Linked DNA regions of Homo sapiens: regions 2 and 3 are each linked to region 1. The links are contacts of gene promoters, found by promoter capture Hi-C in blood cells and fetal thymus (Javierre and others, 2016). All regions are on one chromosome and are shown on one strand. The core of a region is centred on a gene start or on the middle of the fragment in contact, and the rest is flanking DNA. Distances in the headings are between cores, read along the strand shown. Region 1 holds the start of TMEM212 (transmembrane protein 212). Region 2 overlaps FNDC3B (fibronectin type III domain containing 3B). Region 3 overlaps SLC2A2 (solute carrier family 2 member 2).

What was found. The method cuts DNA at HindIII sites, captures the fragments that hold promoters and counts their contacts. A CHiCAGO score of 5 or more calls a contact.
Region 2: a fragment that was not itself captured here is called in contact with the fragment with the promoter of TMEM212 in region 1 in 1 of 17 cell types (neutrophils); the score reaches 5.2 in neutrophils.
Region 3: a contact is called between a fragment that was not itself captured here and the fragment with the promoter of TMEM212 in region 1, in 1 of 17 cell types (fetal thymus). The highest score is 5.1, in fetal thymus.

What each region holds. Positions count from the first base shown.
Region 1 is chr3:171,840,639-171,845,251 of GRCh38, reverse strand. It overlaps TMEM212 (transmembrane protein 212), which reads right to left and starts at 1,903. Exons shown (of 5, transcript NM_001164436.2): 1 at 1,710-1,903. The coding sequence starts at 1,868. The HindIII fragment of the contact is 2,451 bases long and covers 871-3,321 here.
Region 2 is chr3:172,360,210-172,364,934 of GRCh38, reverse strand. It overlaps FNDC3B (fibronectin type III domain containing 3B), which reads right to left. Exons shown (of 26, transcript NM_022763.4): 23 at 2,090-2,302. Among named protein-coding and RNA genes, the nearest start is that of GHSR, 86 kb to the left of the region's middle. The HindIII fragment of the contact is 1,215 bases long and covers 848-2,062 here.
Region 3 is chr3:171,009,188-171,013,853 of GRCh38, reverse strand. It overlaps SLC2A2 (solute carrier family 2 member 2), which reads left to right. Exons shown (of 11, transcript NM_000340.2): 4 at 3,772-3,896. Among named protein-coding and RNA genes, the nearest start is that of SLC2A2, 15 kb to the left of the region's middle. The HindIII fragment of the contact is 1,546 bases long and covers 1,836-3,381 here.

The DNA of each region.
Region 1 (4,613 bases), core at 654-3,153:
GTATTTATGTACATTCTGGGTCCTCACCTAAAATATTTTTCTGACTCTGAGTCACCAAAAAAAAGTTTGGAAGCCACTTGAATAAGTGTAACTGCCATCTCTGCATTCCAGTAGAACTTAAACAAATATTTCTTTGAATGAATTGTGGTTTCAGGTAGGTGTTGGAGAAAAGAAGGGAAGATCAAGATTGGGGTGATAGATGCAAAAGAATGTATTGAAAAAGAAAAAAAAACTGAGAAAGAGAAAGATAACCCTGTGGTTTCCTCATTCCATCGACTCTCCCATAATCCCACTGGCTTCCGTCTATCTGCACACATTCATCAAACCCCACTAGACCAAGTTCCTTTAAGATGAAGACCTTGTTGGATCCTTCATTGTAACTCAACGACATAGGGGGCTATTCATAAATATTTATCTAATAAGTAGATTAAAATTTATATTTCCTGAGGTCTAGTTTTTAGGTGGTATCTCAGTTAAAGTTTTAACTTTTTAAAGATTTAAGATACTATCTCACACAACAGTGGCTACATTTTGTTTGTTTGTTTTGAGATGGAGTCTTGCTCTGTCACCCAGGCTGGAGTGCAGTGGTATGATCTCGGCTCACTGCAAACTCTGCCTCCCAGGTTCATGTGATTCTCCTGCCTCAGTCTCCTGAGTAGCTGGGATTACAGGTGCATGCCACCACGCCTAGCTAATTTTTGTATTTTTAGTAGTGACGGGGTTTCGCCATGTTGGTCAGGCTGGTCTCGAACTCCTGACCTCGTGATCCGCTCCCCTTGGCTTCCCAAAGTGCTGGGATTACAAGCGTGAGCCACCATGCCCGGCCAAGTGGCTACATTTTAATAGAAGATTCCTTAAGATCAAAAAGCTTCAATATTGAATTCTCCAGTCTCCAGTAGTGTCAGGCGTCACAGGAATCAATGAGAGAAGGATTTGTTGGACAGGTGGGTCTCTGTAACTTCTCTTAAATCATACCAGCATGGAAGCCAGTTACTCCCAAGACTAGATGTGCCCATTTTTTTTTGGTTGGAGAGCTAAGGGACCAGGCCAATCGTTTATCTGTGCAATGATTCAATGAGCGCACACGGAGTACTACTTAGTGTCGTACGCTGTACTTGGCACATGTACTTTCCTAGTGAATTGTGAAGTCCATCTTGAATTATTGAATTATTTGAATTATTTTCAAATAATTGAAAATTATTGAGTTATTTTCAGTTCAAACAGTTGCTTGCAAGAGAAAGGTGGAAAAACAAATATTTGGGGTTTGTAAATTTTGGGGCCATGTACATCTTAGTGTTTGCAATGAAAGCATTAGTTTGAAAATTATTTTACTTTGTTCTGTATTTTAAAATTACTTTTCAAGGTTTATGTTTTTTTCTAAATTCAAAATTCACATTTCAAAAGATTCTAATTTCTTAGCATATCAAGTTAAGTGGATTAAAATAAAATAACTTTTTAAGAATTTCTTGAGCAGCATGTCATTAAAAATACATAATATACATGTATACATGATAAAACAATATTAAGATCATTTTTATACTTAAAATGCAATTAATAGAAATCAATGTTCCAAGGCGGATTCTGATTTTTTGTGGAATTTTGACTTCTTTGTATTGTTAGAACAATTTAAAAGGATATGTTCTTCTGTTTTCCCTTTCCCTCCCACCTTCTTTTATTTTCTCAATATATTTAATAAACTATTTTCATACCAAAGCTCCATTCCAGATAGGACAAGCAATTCGAACACTCCATCCTGTGAACCAAGGCTTGTAAGAAAAGACAGGAAAGAAAGCAATAACTCCAGAGCATACACTGAGGATCCCCAGAGTAACAAGAATCCGGCCAGCAGCCTGGTAGAGGCCCTTCATTTTCCTTGGTGGCTTGAGGCCTTGGTCTCAAAGATGTTTTGTTACCAAAACATGAGCGTATGACAGGCCTCAGTAAATAGAAGTTTCTTAGAGACAGTAGCCACGACACATACGAACTGTTGATCTACTTGGAAACAAGATTCTATTTGTTTTACCAAAGATGAAATGTACTCAAATAGTCCTTGGCATAAATTTGACACAATAAATTCTAATAACAATTTATTTAAGAGAAAGAGAGAAAAAAATTATCCCTTGCTTTGGATTGCTGCCTTGATTCCCTTCATTCTGCCCTGTCCTGGGGAGTGACCACTTCCTGGCTTAATCAGATTCAAAGGCTTGCTGACTGAGCTAATTGTTTCTCAACTCAACCTGCCTAGTGGTTCCAGCATAAAGCCAACATCCTTTGTGTACAATAGATCCACATTCCCAGCACAATTTCCCACAAAACAAAGTAAAAATAAGCACCCTGGTCACTTTTCATTATATTTAATTTAAATGATTTCAACCCAAAGCAAGACCTTCACCTCCTTTCAAAGTTTAATTCCACTACAATTATTTTTGATAAAGATTTTTGATATGGATTCATTCCCAAATGGGCATGAACTTTATTATGGAGTTTTGCATTGTTTTCACTAAACCAGTTTCACCTTATTTTACTATTAATTTAATTTTCAATTAAAGTGTGATGATGGAAATGTATGCAGTTATAAAATAAAATAAACTTTGAGGAGCAATTCATCAGTTGAATAAAATGCTGATCCCCATTCATTCTTGAATCATAATTCTAATTTGAGATATTGAACTTAGGTACATTTAGGCAGTTACAAGTCATCTCTTACTTTTTCATGCATTTGAGAAAATGGTGTTATTTGATTTTGACTGATTGGATATATGTGGATGTCTGTTCAAAAAAATATCTTAAAAACACAGGTCAGTTTCTGAAGCCATCTGAATAATTTTCCTATTTAACATTAATACATTATTCCTTTTTACTGAAATAAAAGGATGAAAAATAATTTTATGAATGCAAATGAAGTGGTTTAGGACATCGATTTTGAGTCAGATGGAGCTGTGATCCGATTCTGGTTCCACTCTCTACCAGGTTTGTGTCCTTGAGTAAGGGCAAGTTACTTAACTTCTCTAGGTCTATTTATTCGTATGCGAAATGGGAATAAAAGTTAGTGTTTATCTTTAATGGATTTGGTTGAGAGGATTAAATGAGCTAAAACCATAAATGCCTAGCCCAGAGTTTAGCATAACGAAGATGTTCAGAAAGTTACTCTTGTTAAATTGGGATGTTCCACCTTTGGGGTCCTTCCATCGTGGGACAAAGGTGCACTTATTGTGGTTTTTTTTTAAATTCATCACCTTAAAAACATCATGTTTAACTCTTCCTGAACAATTTGGTAAAAACTCCCAAAGGACCCTCCCATATGTGGTGGAAAGAGAAGCTTCTCTCTGATTCTCTGCTTTTTTTCTTTCTGCCTTTCTGTCTTTAATAGCCATTCCACAGTTTGACCCAGATTTTGAAGCAGTTGCATTCCTGGATATACAGAATCCAGGAAACCAACTCATGCTTTCTGGTACAGCTGCTATTTCTTATCTCCTCTCAACACTGTGGGCTATATTCTCTGATTTTTTTTTTCTAACACCACTAGATAAATTTCACAAGGGCAGAGACCTTGCAAGTCTTATACATCCCTTAAATGTATGAGATATTCCCAGCGTCTACAACCTTGTCTGCATCAGAGCAGATACATATAGTAATAAGTATTTGTTGAATTAGTTGATTAATACATTAAACTTTCCCCTTTGTATTTGGGCTCTCCTGTCCCCCTGAAGCTGCACAAGTATAGAGCCATGTGAATCCACCACCGTCAATGAGTGTTGATGCTAGTTTGTTCCACTGATATGGGGGGGGAAGGGGTCGAGAGTGAAGAAAGACTTGTTTGTATTAGTATTTGGTTTGAGCTGTTTTGACTTTTTCCTTTACTTTTTATCTCAAGGTTATAGCTAGATGGTATGTCAATATGCTGTGGGTCAGATCACTCTCTCCTGTTTGCATGTTTGGAAAATAAAGACTGTTGAAATACTCATGTTAAACAGTACAAAGATGGCAAACAAAGAGAGTATTTTTTGTTTTAACTTGAAGGACCTTTTAAGTGCCTGTAACACTCACAGCCTAACCCTGACACTGCTATTGTGACTTATAAACCTGAATTTATTAGTGATTAGAGGAGCTGTTGCCACTTAATATAACAAAGAGAAGGAAGAGAGGTAGAATAGGGTTTCTCTCTGTGTGTTTTCCCGCAGGAATCTAGTCCCACTAATTTCATTAAAAAAAGGACATTTTCAGTGAGAGCAGCTACTAGGAAAGAAAAGAAAGTGTCACTGCTTCTGTCTTGGGCTTCCTCTCTGATCAGCCGTGTCTGTGTGCCCATGTCCTGGCAGCCAGCAAGGTTTATAGGGCCCCTGCTCCCTCTAGTCATCCCACGTGGCACTAACTGACTGCAAGTTGGGCCTGCAAGTTCTCCTAGGAGGTGGTGGTGTCAAGGTCGCTGTAGGCTGCTTTGCAGACTCCACCTTCTCCTCAACCCAGGGGATCCCAGGATCTTGGCTCAGGGAAAAAGGCGGTAGCTTCACCAAACACTTCAAGCCAGTTTTGCCACTGAAAACAAACAGAAAGCCCAAATTGACATTTTTATTCCAATGTTCCCCCCTCCACACCAAACACAAGAAATCATC
Region 2 (4,725 bases), core at 206-2,705, 520 kb before region 1:
CTTTAATAACTTTCTGAGAGCACTGACAAATCTAATTTAAAAAGATAAATTTGGACTCTAGCTCCTGTAATTAAGAAAAATACTGTTCCTAATGCGAAGTTTTCTTAAATTGCCATTTAAATTTAGGCAAGTCATTTATTTGATTAGGCAAGCCTTGGGCTTTTTGAGGGGGGAAGAAACAACATGTATTGATTACTAGATTCTGCACTGTTTTTTGTCTGGCATATTTAAATGCCTCATGCCAGGAACCTCATTTGGAAAAGTGCTTGGGGAGCTTTTGTTCTTTGCCCAGGAGCCACCGTGTCATGGAAAACCTTGGATCAGACTACACATTTGTATAGTTCTCCCTATGAGGCACTAGTGGGCTGCTGCCCCACACAGGGCAGGATTGCAGCAAGAGGGGGTGCCCTTGGGGCAGAGCCTTCACTTCCCACATTTCTAAGATGGCAGTGGAGGCAGGGCACGGGGAATTGGGAGGCACTGGCCTTTATCCCAACTCAGCTAGCTACCACTTTCAACAACTTTTCTGTGCTTCACTTTTTTCTAAAACAGCACAACTAGAAGCTATTTTCTAAGGATTTACCACCAATGGAAGCCACAGGTCTGGGAAAAAATGAAAAGACATTTAAAAATTTCCCCCAATGCTAGTTTTTTTATACATGGATTGTGATTTCTGTTAGTTCACAATTGCTGTTCTTGCCAGCCCTCTCCTGTTGAGTTGTCCCTAGCCAGTAAAATAAAAAGCCCATGAAAACACATCCGAAGGCACATATAGCACAATAAGATGAATGCTCTTGTGTATCAGTGGATATGAATTTAATCTTTCATGAACCTATCAAAAGAAGCTTTACCTCCCCTGTGTTCTCTTCACTAGAACTAATTTCCAAGAGGATAATCACGTTTTGTTCTGTCATAAAAATTACCAGGTTTGCCAGGTCCTCCAAAGTCAAGCTCAAATGTCACCTCTTTCAAGAAATCTTTCCTGATCTTTTAAACCAGATGGTCTCTGCCTCCTTCAAACTCCCAAAGCAATTTTTTCCTCTGACACTAATGTTCTATGGCCATTTTAAAAATTGATACTATGCTTCTAGAGGTAGGGTCTTATGTGATTTCTAATCTTGGTCTCCACTGAAGGCCCACAGGACTCCACTGTACTGAAATCCATCAAAGTGCTTGACTGCAGAGTAGGGGGTGGAGACTGGGACAGGGTTTTCCGTGTAACTAGAATGGGTTCCATACGTGAAGGAACAGAATAGTATCATGCATAAAAGGAAATAACAGAAATGCTTCTATCCTGACACTGGTTTTGTGTGTCAGTAGGTAAGCAGGGAAGTAGCATTTTGGTTGTTTTGGTTTTATGGTGATCTCCCATTCCCTTTACCTGATTGTCTGATTAGGACTTTTGGTAACAGAACATTCTGTCACCATTAACTTTTGCTTGACATTGGATTATTTCTAAATACAGTTTGGCTGTCTTCTGATCGGACATTTTCAGAGGAAATGAAGTTAGGTTAAACAAATACTACGTGAAAGGCTACATTTGATTTTGACAGCCAAGAATGTTTCCTGGGTATGGAGTTTTATGAAGAATCTCCTATTTGCTCTGGTTAATTTGATATTGCATTGCCCATAGTTACAGAGTACAGTCCCCATCTGTACATCACCCACAGCTATTTCACATTGGTAAACATGTTTGTCCTGATGGTTACTGAATATTTAAAGAGGTAACATCTCTTCCTGGGTCTTATTTCCCTCTGCACTCATGACTAATATAATGCTATTACATAGTGTGAACTTGAATTTGACAATTTTCTTTAGATACTTTCTCTCCATTATCTGGCTTGATGAAAGGAAAAAAAAGTGCATATTATGCTATGTAGGGAAATCAGGATCTTTAGAATGTTTAGAAATTCCAAATAGAGAATAAAAGGAACGACTCCGGGTATAAAACGCAGGGCTCAAGTCAAAGGAAGCCTCTGAACAAGAAGGAAGAGGGTCTTAGTGCAAGCAAATAAAAATGTACAATTGAGATTTCATCCCACAAGCCAAAGCTACAGAAGCTTCAGGAGCATCCTCACCCCCACCTCACCTCTTGTTTCTGTCCTCCAGCTGTAGTGTGTACACAATGTCCTCAGCAGCATGTGTCTTGGAGTTACTGTCTCCCCATTTTAGCTTCAGGCTCTGAGGACCAGCAGCAGCACATTCTAGCCTAGGAGGCAAGGGTGGTAATGGCCGAGTTTTTGCTTTAATGAACTGACTAAATGGTCCAGCTCCAATTTCATTTATAGCCTGAATTCTGATCCTAGAGAAAGGAAAAAAAAAATACAGACAATGCAGGTTAAAGCAGCAGCAATTCTTCATTCGAAATAAACATTGAGCATAGTATTTATTACTTGTCCCTAAAGCAATAACATAGAATGAAGAAAAACAAGTTAAAGTAACTCAAGACAAATAGAAGCACGGGGTTGCTCAGTGGACAGACTATAGTCTCCATTTAAAAAAAAAATAGCAAAAAAGCACGGTAGCAAGATATCTCTTAGTTCTTTAATTTAAAAAAAATAGGTTTGTTGTCTCAGGGAAGATATCTTAAAGATACGCTTTTATATTTTGTCCTAGCTACCGTTTAGCTACCTCATGGTCAGTTTTGGAAGTAGGTGAGCTATCAAGAGTAAATGAAATGGGGGAACAAATGAGTCTCCTTCAGAGTCAAAAACACAGGACAACTCATCAACAGGACATTTCATGTCTCCCTTTTGCCAGCCTCATCCAACAATCTCTGCAAGTCCTTATCTAGAGCTAAGCATGCAGATATTGTTAGTAATGGGATGGCATCCAGATGTGCAAAAATCTTAGCTGGATGTTTGCTATGTGTAGCACAGAGTTATGGATAAGAAACATATTACCTTAATCATCCATGAATTTAAAATCGAAGAGTTAAAATGTATATATAAAATGTTATTTTAGGCCAGGCGTGGTGGCTTACACCTGTAATTCCAGCACTTTGAGAAGCCGAGGCAGGAGGATTGCCTGAGTCCAGGAGTTTGAGACCAGGCTGGGCCACCTAGTGAGACTCCATCTCTACAAAAAAATAATTTAGTGGGCATAGTGACACATGCCTGTGGTCCCAGTACTTGGGAGGTTGTGGTGGGAGAATTGTTTGGCAACACAAAATGAACTAAAAGAAAATTGATATTGAGGAGTAGAGGGTTGCTATAAAGATACCTGAAAATGTGGAACTGGCTTTGGAAGTGGGTAATGGGCAGACACTGGAAGAGTCTGGAGGGCTCAGAAGAAGACAGGAAAGTCTGGAACTTCTTAGACACTGAATAAGTGGTCATGACCAAAGCGCTGATGGAAATATGGGCAGTGAAGGCCATGCTGCGGAGGTCTCAGATGGAAATGAGGAACTTTTGGGAACTGGAGCAAAGAACTTGGCTGCATTGTTTCCATGTCCTAGGGCTTTGTGGAAGGCTGAACTTAAGAGTGATAACTTAGGGTATCTGGCAAAATAAATTTCTAAGAGTAAAGTGTTCAAGAGGTGACCTGGCTGCTTCTAACAACCTATGATCAGATATGGGAGCAAAGGAATGACTTAAAGTTAGAACTTATAATTAAAAGGGAAGCAGAGAGTAACAATTTAGAAAATTTGCAGCCTGGCCATGTGGTAGAGAAGGAAAGAGTACTTTCAGGAGAAGAATCAATGCAGTCTGTAGAGCAACCACTTGCTAGAGAGATTAGCAGGATTAAAAGGGAGCCTGGTACTAATATTCAGGATAATGGGGAAAAGCCCTTAAAGGGCATTTCACAAACCTTGGAGACATGGACCCTCTCCTCCAGAGGCCTAGGAGGACTGAATAATTAAAGGTTTATTGAGGGCTCATTAGAAGCATATGCTGGCACCACACTTTTTGTACAGCCTACAGAACCAAAGGTTTTGTACAGCCTACAGTTTATTATAAGCCAAACAAATCTCTTTTCTTTATACATTAAAAAAATAAAGTGATGTGGAAAGGCAAAGGAACTAAAATAGCTAATGCAAAATTTAAAAATAAGAATAAAGTTTGAAGAATCACACTACCTGATTTTAGGACTTAGTATAAAGCTACAGTAATCAAGAGAGTGTGGTACCAGTGAAGAGAAGAACACCTAGATCAATACAAGAGAATAGAGACTCCAGAAATAGACCTACACAAATGGGGCCAATTGACTTTTGACAAAGGTGCAAAAGCAATCCAATGGAGAAAAGACAGTCTTTTCAACAAATGGTGTTGAAATAATTGGATATCAATAGGAGGAAAATAAACCTCAGCTTCAACCTCACACCTTACACAAAACTTTGCTCAAAAGGGACCACAGATCTAAATGTAGAATATTAAACTTTTAAGAAGAAAACACAGAAGAAAATCTACTACCTAGAATTAAGTAAAGAGTTTTTGGATATGACATGAAAAGCATGATCTTACATAAAAGAAAAAAATAAAAAACTGGATTTCATCAAAATTTGAAACTTTTGCACTGCTAAGAGAATGAAAATAACTAGAGACTGGAAGAATGTATGTGCCAATATTACATCTGACAAATGATTTGTAACCAGAATGTATAATGACCTCCCAAAACTCAGTTAAGGAAATAATCCATTAAAAATGGGCGGAAGACTAGAATAGACACTCCACCAAAGAGGGAATACAGATGGCAAATAAGGACACAAAAACATGTTTGACATCA
Region 3 (4,666 bases), core at 1,359-3,858, 830 kb after region 1:
TCCTTTACCCTCAAATTTTACTTATTCATGCAATGGACTACAGCTGTTAGGATTTCCCACCCTATATAAAGAGGAGATAAAACCAGAATATCAAATGATTATTTTTTAGATTTTCTCCTATTTGAGCCCACCTTTTGTGCATTACCTTTTTTTCTCATGATAAAAATAATATATGAAAAATTTAGAAAGTGAAAATGCCTTTAAAGATGTAAATAACAATTTAGGCAACTAGTTTAATAATTCTGGATTATAATTCACTTAGTTTTTCAATTCCTATTATAAATTATAATTTTTAGCTCTCTGGTTATTAAAATTCTGATAACTCTTCCTCTTATACTGGAGCTTTTATATAATATGACTATAAGTTTTCTTAACTACAATATCATGGTAACCCAAGTTTTATTATTATTTTTATTTGAAATGGAGTTTTCTCCACCATAAAAGACAGTGGTCAATTTCTTATATTTTAATCAACTTGCTGATGTTCAGTTGAACTTTAAATACGAATCTGTAAAATACGGATTAATAAACTGAATTTCATCATTTAAAAAAATTCAAAAATAATTTCAATGTGTATCAAGTTGGTTTAAGTAGTAAATGGAGAATTCTCTAGATTAATTATTTATTGCTAAAGTAAATTATTTCCTAGCAAGTGGGCTCAGACAAAAGGAAAAAGGAAAAATAATTTTAAAAAAAATTTTTAAGTAAATCAAATTAAGCAAAATTAAATTACGTTCTAAAATATGCACAAATCATTTAGCAACTACTGATATTTTATACTACTTCTCATTCCTGAAGAAAAAATGTAAACCCTGGTTGCCTCTCATTTAGAGGTAAGATTCTGATGAGTTCAGTGACTTAACCTAAAACATTTAATTAGTGTTAACATTTAATTAACATTTAATGGAGCCAATATACAAACCCTCTGAAGTCTTAGGATTTGGCATCAACAATGGTTATACCCCAAAACAATGTCAAATGACCACGTATCAAATGACCTATGGTAAACAAAAAGTGAGGTTTCTCCTAGCTTTTAGTAATAAAATGATCCCCCTTGAAAAGCAGCCCAAAAGTCCATAACTTCAACATCAAAATTAAGACAAAGTTATCAGTATCCCCATAAAATTATCTTTCTAGAGAGATTCATTGAGAAGTGACATGATTTTCATTATTACCAGTGTCATTTATCTACCAGTCAAAAGTAAATAAATAAAAATGTAATACTTCCATTATTGCCTTTAAAAAAAAAAGTGTTTCCTTGCAATTGTGTAATAGTCAACAGATGTCTGTGGCCACCATTTTATAGTTTTGGGTTTGCAAGGCCAATTTTTCCAACCTATGCATTTACAGTTTAATTACCAGGGTACGGTAGAGAAGACTATGGTCTGTGCAATCCACACTACCATGAGTAAAGGAAGCGATGCATAGCTTGCCTTTGAAGGCATGCATTCTTTCCCATCAAAAATGGAACTCATTAAAATGATACATTACCCTTTGGTTTCACACAGATCAAGTCCAAGATCTGTCACTTAATAGCTGTATGAAAATGAGCAAGTTATTAGGTTCTCTAAGACGTTTTCCTCCCATCTGCAATGTGAAAACAAAAATAATACCTACCTCATGGCATTATTGTGAGGATTTAATGACAACAAATATAAAAGGTTTAAAACAATGCCTGACATTTATTAAGCAAACACCAAATGTGGCCTCATTTTGATGATGATGATGATGATGATGATGACGACAATGACCATGACCACGACAATAATCGAGCCTATACTATCTGAAGTATTTAGAGTCAGATTTTAAGAAATATGCTTACATAGAATTAAGCTTCTTTTTCCCTGATTCAGCTATTTCATGTATTTTTTAAAGTATTTATTTGTGGCCATTTCTAATATCTGAACAGAAGTTAAAAGAATTTAAATTACATAAAGTGTTCCTGCATCCTTTGGTGGTAGGGAAAGGGGACTTTAGGGCATCAAAGATTCTTCCAGGCTATTTCTTTTATGACTTTTTATCTTTTTTCCCCTAATAAAAGAGACTATTAGCTAGGTGGTAACAACTTGTTAAGGTCAATTATTGAATTTGCCTGCCCTCTGTCCCTGTGTAGATAAAAAGCATTTCACAATAGTCTAAACTACTAAACACCCCTTAAACTATTTTTCTACTCTGTAGCTCTGGGGCTAGCCAGCTCTAAATCACTCTGTTTCCCTATACTCATTTCACATTGCTGCTGTAATGAATTATCCCCAATTTAGTGGCTTAAAACAACACAAATATGTTTTCTTATAGTTTTGGAGGTCAAAATTCCAAACTCAGTTTTAGTTAGCTAAAGTCAAAATGCCAATAAGGCTGGTTCCTTCTGGAGGCTTTGAGGGAAGAATGCATTCCTTGCCCTTTTCCAGCTTGCAGTGACCAACTATAGTTCTCTGGCTTGTGGCCCCTTCTTCCATCTTTGAAGCACAACATTCTAATCTCTACTTCTGTCATCATATCACCTGCTCCTCTTCTACCTTACTCTTATCAGGACATTTGTGATTACATCATTGGATTCACTCAGATAATTGAAGATAATCTCCCCATCTCAAGATTCTCAATCACATCTGCAAAACCTCATTTGCTATGTGACGTAACATTTACAGAGTCTGGGGATTATGCTGTAGGCTGCCAGGGGACATGATTTAGCCTATCACGTGGATGTTGGACAATCACTGCAGTATGTGACTTTATAGTTTTATGCTCCAGAAAAAAAAAATTCTGTTTGGTTGGTGTTAAAGATACTTGCATGGAAAAGGCCCACCTATCAAAGTTTGAAGCAGTGAAATAGAATATAACAAGGACGTTTACATTTCTTTTGGCACAAACATTTTCACACCTGTCTACTCAGGCATTTATTGGCCTTACCATTATCTGCTTGACTGCAAAAAAGGTTTTCTGTGTACCTCGCTTTCCCATTAATTAGAAATAAAAGTAACAGATATCTGCAAATGTTGTCAATTTTCATCTGATTAATTTTGAAAGTGTTTTTGTTGCTATTGTCAGCTCTATTATGTATTTTACATTGGTCACTAATAATTTATAGATTTTGGAAATATGCTGGCATACAATATTAAAATACAGATAATTATAATTCTCTAGATAAGGCTTAAAAGTATGTTTTAAATTACTTCCAAATAATTTATACAAAAGGAAATTTAACTTTGAAAGTTCCTTTCCTATCTAGATTAAAAACCTGTGCCATTGAAAGAAAAAAAAAGTTGTAGGTTACAACTATAGAATTGAATTTAGCTATCACCAGACAATTATTCTTTAAAACAATCAACTTAGAGAAAACTTAGTTAACTCTTTGAAAAACTGTCATAAGTGTTATCTTAAGCTTGTCCTCACCAGGATTGAATCATCTCTATCAAAATGTAGAGATTAGGCTTGAGCCTGGGAGGTCAAGACTTCAATGAACCATGATGGTGCCTTTGCACTCCAGCCTGAGTGACAGAGCGAGTGAGACCCTGTCTCAAAATAAAATAGAAAAATGTAGAGATCAGGTGGATGCAACCTAGGTTATCCCATCATAAGTCTTGCTTATTAGTAATACTTTAGTCCATAGATGAGTCAAATTAGCAATCTTGGTTCAAGATTCCCCAACTAGCTTTTACAGCAAAATTAAAATAATTGCTCTTAGGTTAAAAAAAATCTCAACATGCTCTGAAAGCGAATAATTTTAGCAAGTTTTGATGCTGAATTTATATTCCTTGCTTTTTAAAATTTCAGAATCAAAGCCATGTTAGTAGCAAACATTCTGTCATTAGTTGGAGCTCTCTTGATGGGGTTTTCAAAATTGGGACCATCTCATATACTTATAATTGCTGGAAGAAGCATATCAGGACTATATTGTGGTAAGTCACACACACACACACACACACACACACACACACACACACCTACCTTTGTCTGAAAGTAACTCTAAAGGCGGATGTGGTAGCACTCAGGGATATTTTTGAGTCTAGGGTGACATCACAGAGGGAAAGGCAATAGCATAAAGTTGAAATCCTGAGTTGGGAGGTTTGGGACCAGTAAGTAGGAATTATGATGCTATCAAGGTTCTCGTCCATGGCAATGACATCATTTCTAGTTGTATGATCACAGACAAATTATTTAACTCTGACTCTCAGTTGCTTCATTTATTAAATGAAGTGGATAATAATATCTACCTTATAGGGTGATTGTGAGAACATATGTAAAACGTTCCGCATAGAATCTGACATACAGTAAGCTACCAGTAAATGCTAGCCGTTGTTATTACTGCTGTGGTATAGCAGACAGTGGGAGACTGCTATACCACGACCCTTAATTCTGCCCTTATGGACTACCTGGCTGCCATGTCTCCATCTCTTCTATCTGACAAGACCTTAACACTCTGAACCCATCTCTTAGACCACATTCCCCAGCCCTGTATGATTCTAGACATGACCGAGTGAAGCATTACAGTGGTGGTGTCCATAGGGAAAGTGAATCAGAGAGAAGCAGCTGATATTTAAAAGTTCAGAATAAAGGAAGGAGGTTCCTCCCACAAACTTTATTCTGAATAGTGGGAATCGCTAGTTCTTGGAGACAGCTTTTCAAACATTCAGAGGCAACTAATTAGCAGACATCTGAAGAAAGGGAG